Linked DNA regions of Homo sapiens: region 2 is linked to region 1. The links are contacts of gene promoters, found by promoter capture Hi-C in blood cells and fetal thymus (Javierre and others, 2016). All regions are on one chromosome and are shown on one strand. Each heading gives the region's core, a stretch centred on a gene start or on the middle of the fragment in contact. The rest is flanking DNA. Distances are from core to core; before and after follow the strand shown.

Evidence for each region. The method cuts DNA at HindIII sites, captures the fragments that hold promoters and counts their contacts. A CHiCAGO score of 5 or more calls a contact.
Region 2: a contact is called between a fragment that was not itself captured here and the fragment with the promoter of GPR31 in region 1, in 2 of 17 cell types (activated CD4 T cells and non-activated CD4 T cells). The highest score is 7.7, in activated CD4 T cells.

Annotation. Positions count from the first base shown.
Region 1 is chr6:167,156,217-167,159,555 of GRCh38, reverse strand. It overlaps GPR31 (G protein-coupled receptor 31), which reads left to right and starts at 1,576. Exons shown (of 1, transcript NM_005299.3): 1 at 1,576-3,339. The coding sequence starts at 1,725. The coding sequence ends at 2,684. The HindIII fragment of the contact is 7,257 bases long and covers 1-2,374 here.
Region 2 is chr6:166,757,887-166,761,225 of GRCh38, reverse strand. It overlaps a transcript of RPS6KA2 not described here. Among named protein-coding and RNA genes, the nearest start is that of RPS6KA2, 130 kb to the right of the region's middle. The HindIII fragment of the contact is 2,266 bases long and covers 631-2,896 here.

The sequences.
Region 1 (3,339 bases), core at 327-2,826:
TCACTATTGTACGGTTCATTGAAATAACTTAGGCCAGCACTAACAATGACTGACACGCAATGAACATGCAGTATACTTTAGTAATAATAATTATTAAAGCCTTAAACTTGGATACTATAATTGAAGGCATCAAAACACCATAGAACGGATATTTAGTACAAAAGTGTTTTATCGCGTTAAGAGATAACGAATAGTTTTTTAAAGCCTATGCATCAGAGAGGCTTAATAAATACTCTAGTAAAAGCATCAAGCTCTCACAACACCCAGACATGGCGCTAAGTGCTTTACCTGTAATAGTACCTTGACTACTCAAAAGAACTCTTCAAGAAGGTGTTACCATCTTCACCTCTCAAGTGAAGAGCCTGGAGTTCAGAGAAGTTAATTTGCTTTCCCAAAACCACACTGCTAATAAATGGAGAAACAAAAAATTATAACTAAAGTTTACTTAACTCCAAAATTCAAACCAGGCTGAATGGACCCAAGATAAATTAGAGTCAACAGTGGGAGAGGACCAACTTAAATTAGAGTCAATATGGGTAAGACCTATGATGAAGTAGGGTCACCAGTTGGTAAGGATCAAGATGAAGTAGGATCAAGAATGGTTAGGACTGAGATAAATTAGGATCATCAGTGGGTAAGAACCAAGATGCAGTAAGGTCAAAAGTGGGAAAAGATCAAGATGAAGTAGGGTCAACGTTGAGTGAAGACCAGGATGAATTAGGGTCAATAGTGGGTAAGGACCAAGGTAAATTAGGGTCAACATTGGGTGAGAACCAAGTATAATAGGGTCATTGATGGGTAAGGACTGAGATGTATTAGGGTCATCAGAGGGTAATGATGACTGCACACGTTTATTCATCAAAGAAATGCTTGTTGATAATGCTGTGTGCCAGGCATTGTCTGTCACTAGCGACACATGGATATATGGAGTATGTCCCTGGCTGATGAACCTAACTTTCTAGTGGATTCTACGCATTTTTACAAGCCATTGATTTTTCCATGCTTCCAGGGCCCACTCCAGGCCCTGCTGGTCCAGATCCCAATCCAAGTGGTGTACTAGGTAGGAAAGACTCCAGCAGAGAAAATAAAATAAATTTGTATTTAACAAAACACAAGTACAAGTGAAACCATCAGCTATGGAATGAGCAGGTTGTCTCAAATCCCCTTTCAAGTTTAAGTGTGGGGACCACATCTGACCAGTGTGTAAAATCAAGCCCCATGCAGAAGGATCCCAGCAAGCGTCCTTTATGTATGAAAAGGAAGAAGAAAATTTCCCCATGAAACATATTCAAAGTAGAGAACAATCTTTTTGATTCCATTGTTATTTTAATTGTATACAGACATAGGAGTCTTTGCATAATTAGACTTTTCCTTCTTTCAGGACTGTGGATGCAAAGCCCTGGACCCCCAGACGTTATAGGACATTACTCCTCAGCTTTGCAGCCCGGTGATGTGAAGCGAAACACCATTTCCCCTTTTTTATGGCGGAAGAAAACAGAACACAACTGCAAAGGGGCTTTTCCCTCCCCTGCTCATCCTCTTTCCCCAAATGAATTTTGGTTTGCTGTGGACTCTATTCTGCTGAGGAACTGTTCTTGTTGGGCAAATGTAGATCTTGTCTACTCTGTGGCAGGAAAAGGCCTTTTCTTTCATTTTGTAAGAAAGAGCACAGAGTTCCTCCTGTACCTGCTCCAGCTGTGCCTGCAGCCCCTCACGGCCGGGTGATGCCATTCCCAAACTGCTCAGCCCCCAGCACTGTGGTGGCCACAGCTGTGGGTGTCTTGCTGGGGCTGGAGTGTGGGCTGGGTCTGCTGGGCAACGCGGTGGCGCTGTGGACCTTCCTGTTCCGGGTCAGGGTGTGGAAGCCGTACGCTGTCTACCTGCTCAACCTGGCCCTGGCTGACCTGCTGTTGGCTGCGTGCCTGCCTTTCCTGGCCGCCTTCTACCTGAGCCTCCAGGCTTGGCATCTGGGCCGTGTGGGCTGCTGGGCCCTGCACTTCCTGCTGGACCTCAGCCGCAGCGTGGGGATGGCCTTCCTGGCCGCCGTGGCTTTGGACCGGTACCTCCGTGTGGTCCACCCTCGGCTTAAGGTCAACCTGCTGTCTCCTCAGGCGGCCCTGGGGGTCTCGGGCCTCGTCTGGCTCCTGATGGTCGCCCTCACCTGCCCGGGCTTGCTCATCTCTGAGGCCGCCCAGAACTCCACCAGGTGCCACAGTTTCTACTCCAGGGCAGACGGCTCCTTCAGCATCATCTGGCAGGAAGCACTCTCCTGCCTTCAGTTTGTCCTCCCCTTTGGCCTCATCGTGTTCTGCAATGCAGGCATCATCAGGGCTCTCCAGAAAAGACTCCGGGAGCCTGAGAAACAGCCCAAGCTTCAGCGGGCCCAGGCACTGGTCACCTTGGTGGTGGTGCTGTTTGCTCTGTGCTTTCTGCCCTGCTTCCTGGCCAGAGTCCTGATGCACATCTTCCAGAATCTGGGGAGCTGCAGGGCCCTTTGTGCAGTGGCTCATACCTCGGATGTCACGGGCAGCCTCACCTACCTGCACAGTGTGCTCAACCCCGTGGTATACTGCTTCTCCAGCCCCACCTTCAGGAGCTCCTATCGGAGGGTCTTCCACACCCTCCGAGGCAAAGGGCAGGCAGCAGAGCCCCCAGATTTCAACCCCAGAGACTCCTATTCCTGACAACAGCCAGCGTCCTCAACGCCCGTGTTTATGGAACTACCTGCGACCTAAATAATAATTACTCCTACTTTGGGATTCTGGAAGAAGAAGAAGTCTTAAGACTGCAATACAAGGATCAGAGCATAAACATGGGCACAGTTGCTGCAGGTGTGGTCTTATACTTTGTTGACCAGGGTGGTCCTCTGTGATTTTACCTTGTAGAGTGGCAAATCAAAATGAACAAGCTAGAACCTCCTCCTACCCAACTATGATGCAGATTCAGTTGCTGAACTGAAAAGTCGGGCAGCTACTCCATCTCCACACTTGAAGAAATGTAATTTGCTAAATCAGTGAAGGAAGAGAAGAAAGCCGGGTGATGGCATCTTTCCAACTCTTACTTGGTCTCAGCAAGTCATTTTCATTTATTATGCTTCAGTTTTAAATACAAAAAAAAAACTATGTTTTCTTCCCACCTGCTGTGCAGACTGGGGATGACCGACATCAGAAAGTGCCCTGGTTCTAAAAAGAGACTCTGCTGTATATAAGGTACTGTCGTACATGCTAGCCTTTATTTGGAACATAACATTTTTGTTTTCATAAAATTTTGCTTCATTTTTCTAGATTATACATTATGTTAAGGAAAATGTAGTGAGTTCCCTAGTTTACTGTAAGAAAT
Region 2 (3,339 bases), core at 514-3,013, 400 kb after region 1:
AAAAAATACAAAATTTAGCCGGGTGCGGTGGCTACTTAAGAGGCTAAAATACAACAATTGCTTGAACCCGGGAGGCGGAGGTTGCAGTGAGCCGAGATCGCACCACTGCACTCCAGCCTGGGCAACAGAGCAAGACTCGGTCTCAGAAATGAATAAAAGGCAATTTCTTGCCATCATCACCACGACAACATTCAGTTCGCAAACTCACATCCACCTGCAATTAAATGCCATTAAGAATGAAGGGTTTCCATTGCAAACCCACTAGCTCTCACATGACCACCATTTAGCCAGAGACCAAAGGCCTGATTTATTTTGCTAATGCACTTTCAAAAGTACCAAGTCCTGGAAAATTTCCTTTTAATTCTTATGGAAGTTTGGATTGAATTGTATTTAGGATAACTGTAAATACAGATACCAAAACCCAAATGACTGTAGGTGAGGATTATTCGGACCCTTTGTGCCTCCATTTCCCCCATCCGATTCTTCTTTCCCCAACTCAGTATCCATGCACGTTGCCATCAGGTTGGAAATGGGAAGAGGGATTGCCAGTGAGCAGGCTATTTCAAGCGATTCCAGCAAAATATGTGGTGCAGGAAAGATGAGCATTTTTGGCCGAGCCATTTTCAAGCTTTCCGTGGCTTGCACTGATCTAACCTATGCTAGTTTCCTGTTGCCAGGAGCGATAGAATCAACCTGGAGTCCTCACAGTCTCAAACCAGACCGCGATGGGGGTGGGGGCGGTGCCCACATACTCTGTGCGATGATCTTATCACTTTGACATTCAGTAGATCGCTTTGGTGAGTTCATCTTCGATGTAGTTCAATTGCTTTGCTTGACTTGGGTATTTTTCCTTTGGAGATTAGACCAGCTCAATATATCCTCGAAAGAAGATGTTTATACAATTGTAAACACAATTTCTTAAGAAGCCTTTCACTTTTACTCTGTGTGCAAAATTACCTAAGGAAATATTTGTTCACCAGAATGAGCCCACCTTCCTCTCTCCAAATCGCCATTCCCCAGGTGCCCCTGATTTGCCTAAGCTGGGAACATTGCCCTACATGAGCTACGCATCTTTGCCAACCGAATGAATAGGTTACAGATAGCCAAAAGAAACCTTCCGTTTTTATTCCTGTGTATTTGAAACAATACCAGGGCCCCAACACCACACCCTCAAACAAAAATTTAGTAAAAATTTCTAAATCTCAATCAAGCCTGAATACTACATATTTTAAAATTAAAACAAAGTATTTGTGAAGGACCACAGAGTTAAGTTTTCAGGAAAATATTTTATATTGTCCTCCTTCGACACTCAGAAATCCCCTGCAGTAGGGCTTCACCAAGCACAAACCTCTCTGTACAATGGTGGGAACGGCGCTGCGTTGACCGCTGGGCGAGGATACGGACTCGGCTGCGGCTGTGTCTTCCGCAGGAGCTGAGGCTGCAGCCAGCGGTAGACGGTATGAGAAGACGCCAGCAGTGTGTTTCCAGGAAGCAGGAGTGCCTATTTCTGTGAAAGGCTGCACATATATTTTAAGATCCAGCATTTTCAAAGAGGTGAAATGTGGATGTGGATTCATTTTGGAGAAAAGAAATAGAACTGGGATTGTTTTAAAGCTCCTGATGATTTCACAGAGAGAAGTCAAGGCTGAAACACACCAGCAGTGCTGAGACTCACATAAAATCACAGAGACGAAATTTCGTGAGACTAGAAAGAGCCTTATTTTCTATTAATCTCCCCGTGTTATTATTTTGGGCCAGCAAAAGTAGCAAAAGGTAATTGAGAAATTTTGGAAGACAGAGGCATTTTCTTCTGTTGCCATAACTTGGCCTGTGAACAAACCGTGCTCTATTCTCAAAGTAACAGCTCAGAAGTGTGACCGTTCTGCTTAGAAGTAATATTTGCCAACGGCTCCAGAATAGAAAAAAATGTGTATATAATGGCAGATGTATGGCATGTGTTTCTAAAAATGTTACATTATAGGTTCTTAATAAAGTTCCCATAGTGGAAAGTAGGGTTAATAAAAATGATCCCTTAGAAAGTCCCTCTGAAGGACTGACCAAAGCTCCTTTCAGTTGTTATTTACCTGAAGTATGTATGTATCTGTGTAGACGCAGACCTGCACACACAGGCACACACATGTGCACACACACACACACACGAATGCAACATTGACCTGGATAAATGAGTTTTAATCAGCTCTGCATTCAAGGGAAAGAACATACGCCATGTGTGCTCTGGAAGCCACGAAATGGGTGAAAAGTTGTTTTGGTAGAACCCATTTCCTGAAATAGCAACCACTGGAGAAAGGACGATTGCACTTCAACTATTTCTGTCTGATTGGGAAGGAAATATTCTTTATCTCAATGTCTTGGAGTAAGGAAGGGATGGACAGGGCCCCGTCTTTTAGCAATGCACTACCCTAAATCAAGGTCATTTCTGTCCATTTCAGTCTTAAATTTCCTCTTTGCCTTTGCTTCCTTCTTTTCAAGTCCTGTGTTTTTATATCTGTTTATTTCCACACCTGCATCCTTAGCCGTGGCCTCTATTGTCTGTCACCTCGAAGGCGATTGTCAGTTGGTAGGTCTCTTCTGTTGCATCTGTAGGTTTTCAGAGGAGAAAGCTATTTATGTATTAACAAGAAGCTATACCAGTAAACAAAGGAAACTCCGCCAGTGTCCTGGGTCTGACTCTGAACCTGCCGCCTGTACTCAGCAGCTGCCAATCACACGGAGCCCTGGACGCTTCTGGCAGAACCAAGGCAGGGCTCCATGGCAAGTGAAAGCAAGAAAGGGGCTGATGTTCTGGAAACATGGGAATTCAGTTTTGATCAGGAAAACAAAGCAAATGTTTATGTTAGCCAGAGAGGACATATTCCGAGTTAGCCCGGGAAAAGCTTGTAGAGAGAACGTGCATGCATGTGCACGTGCCTGTGTCTCTGGGGCGGAGGCATCATCTGGAGGGGTAATACAGGGTGATGACATCCTCGCACCCTTGGTGTGCATTCACTGACCCAGCGCCACCTAAAGAAATAAGCAACCATTTTCATTCACCTTCCTCCTACGCCTGCCTCCTCCTTTCAGTTTAAATGACACAGAGAAGGACCGAAGTGTCTTTTCATGCACTGCTAAGGCACGTTGCCAGCCTGGCTGTGGGCAAGTGGGGGCAGGTGTGCGTTGAGGAGGACCTCAGGCCTGCCCCTCAGAGTGTCTTTGATGGTTTCTGACATTTGATTGCCTCTAAGTGACGCTTCTGCTTTGCCGGCTTCTGCCAGATGTTGTGTTCCAGCCTGCTGGGATTCGGAGCAGCATGAGTAACTTCGCATTCTCATCAGAGGAGAA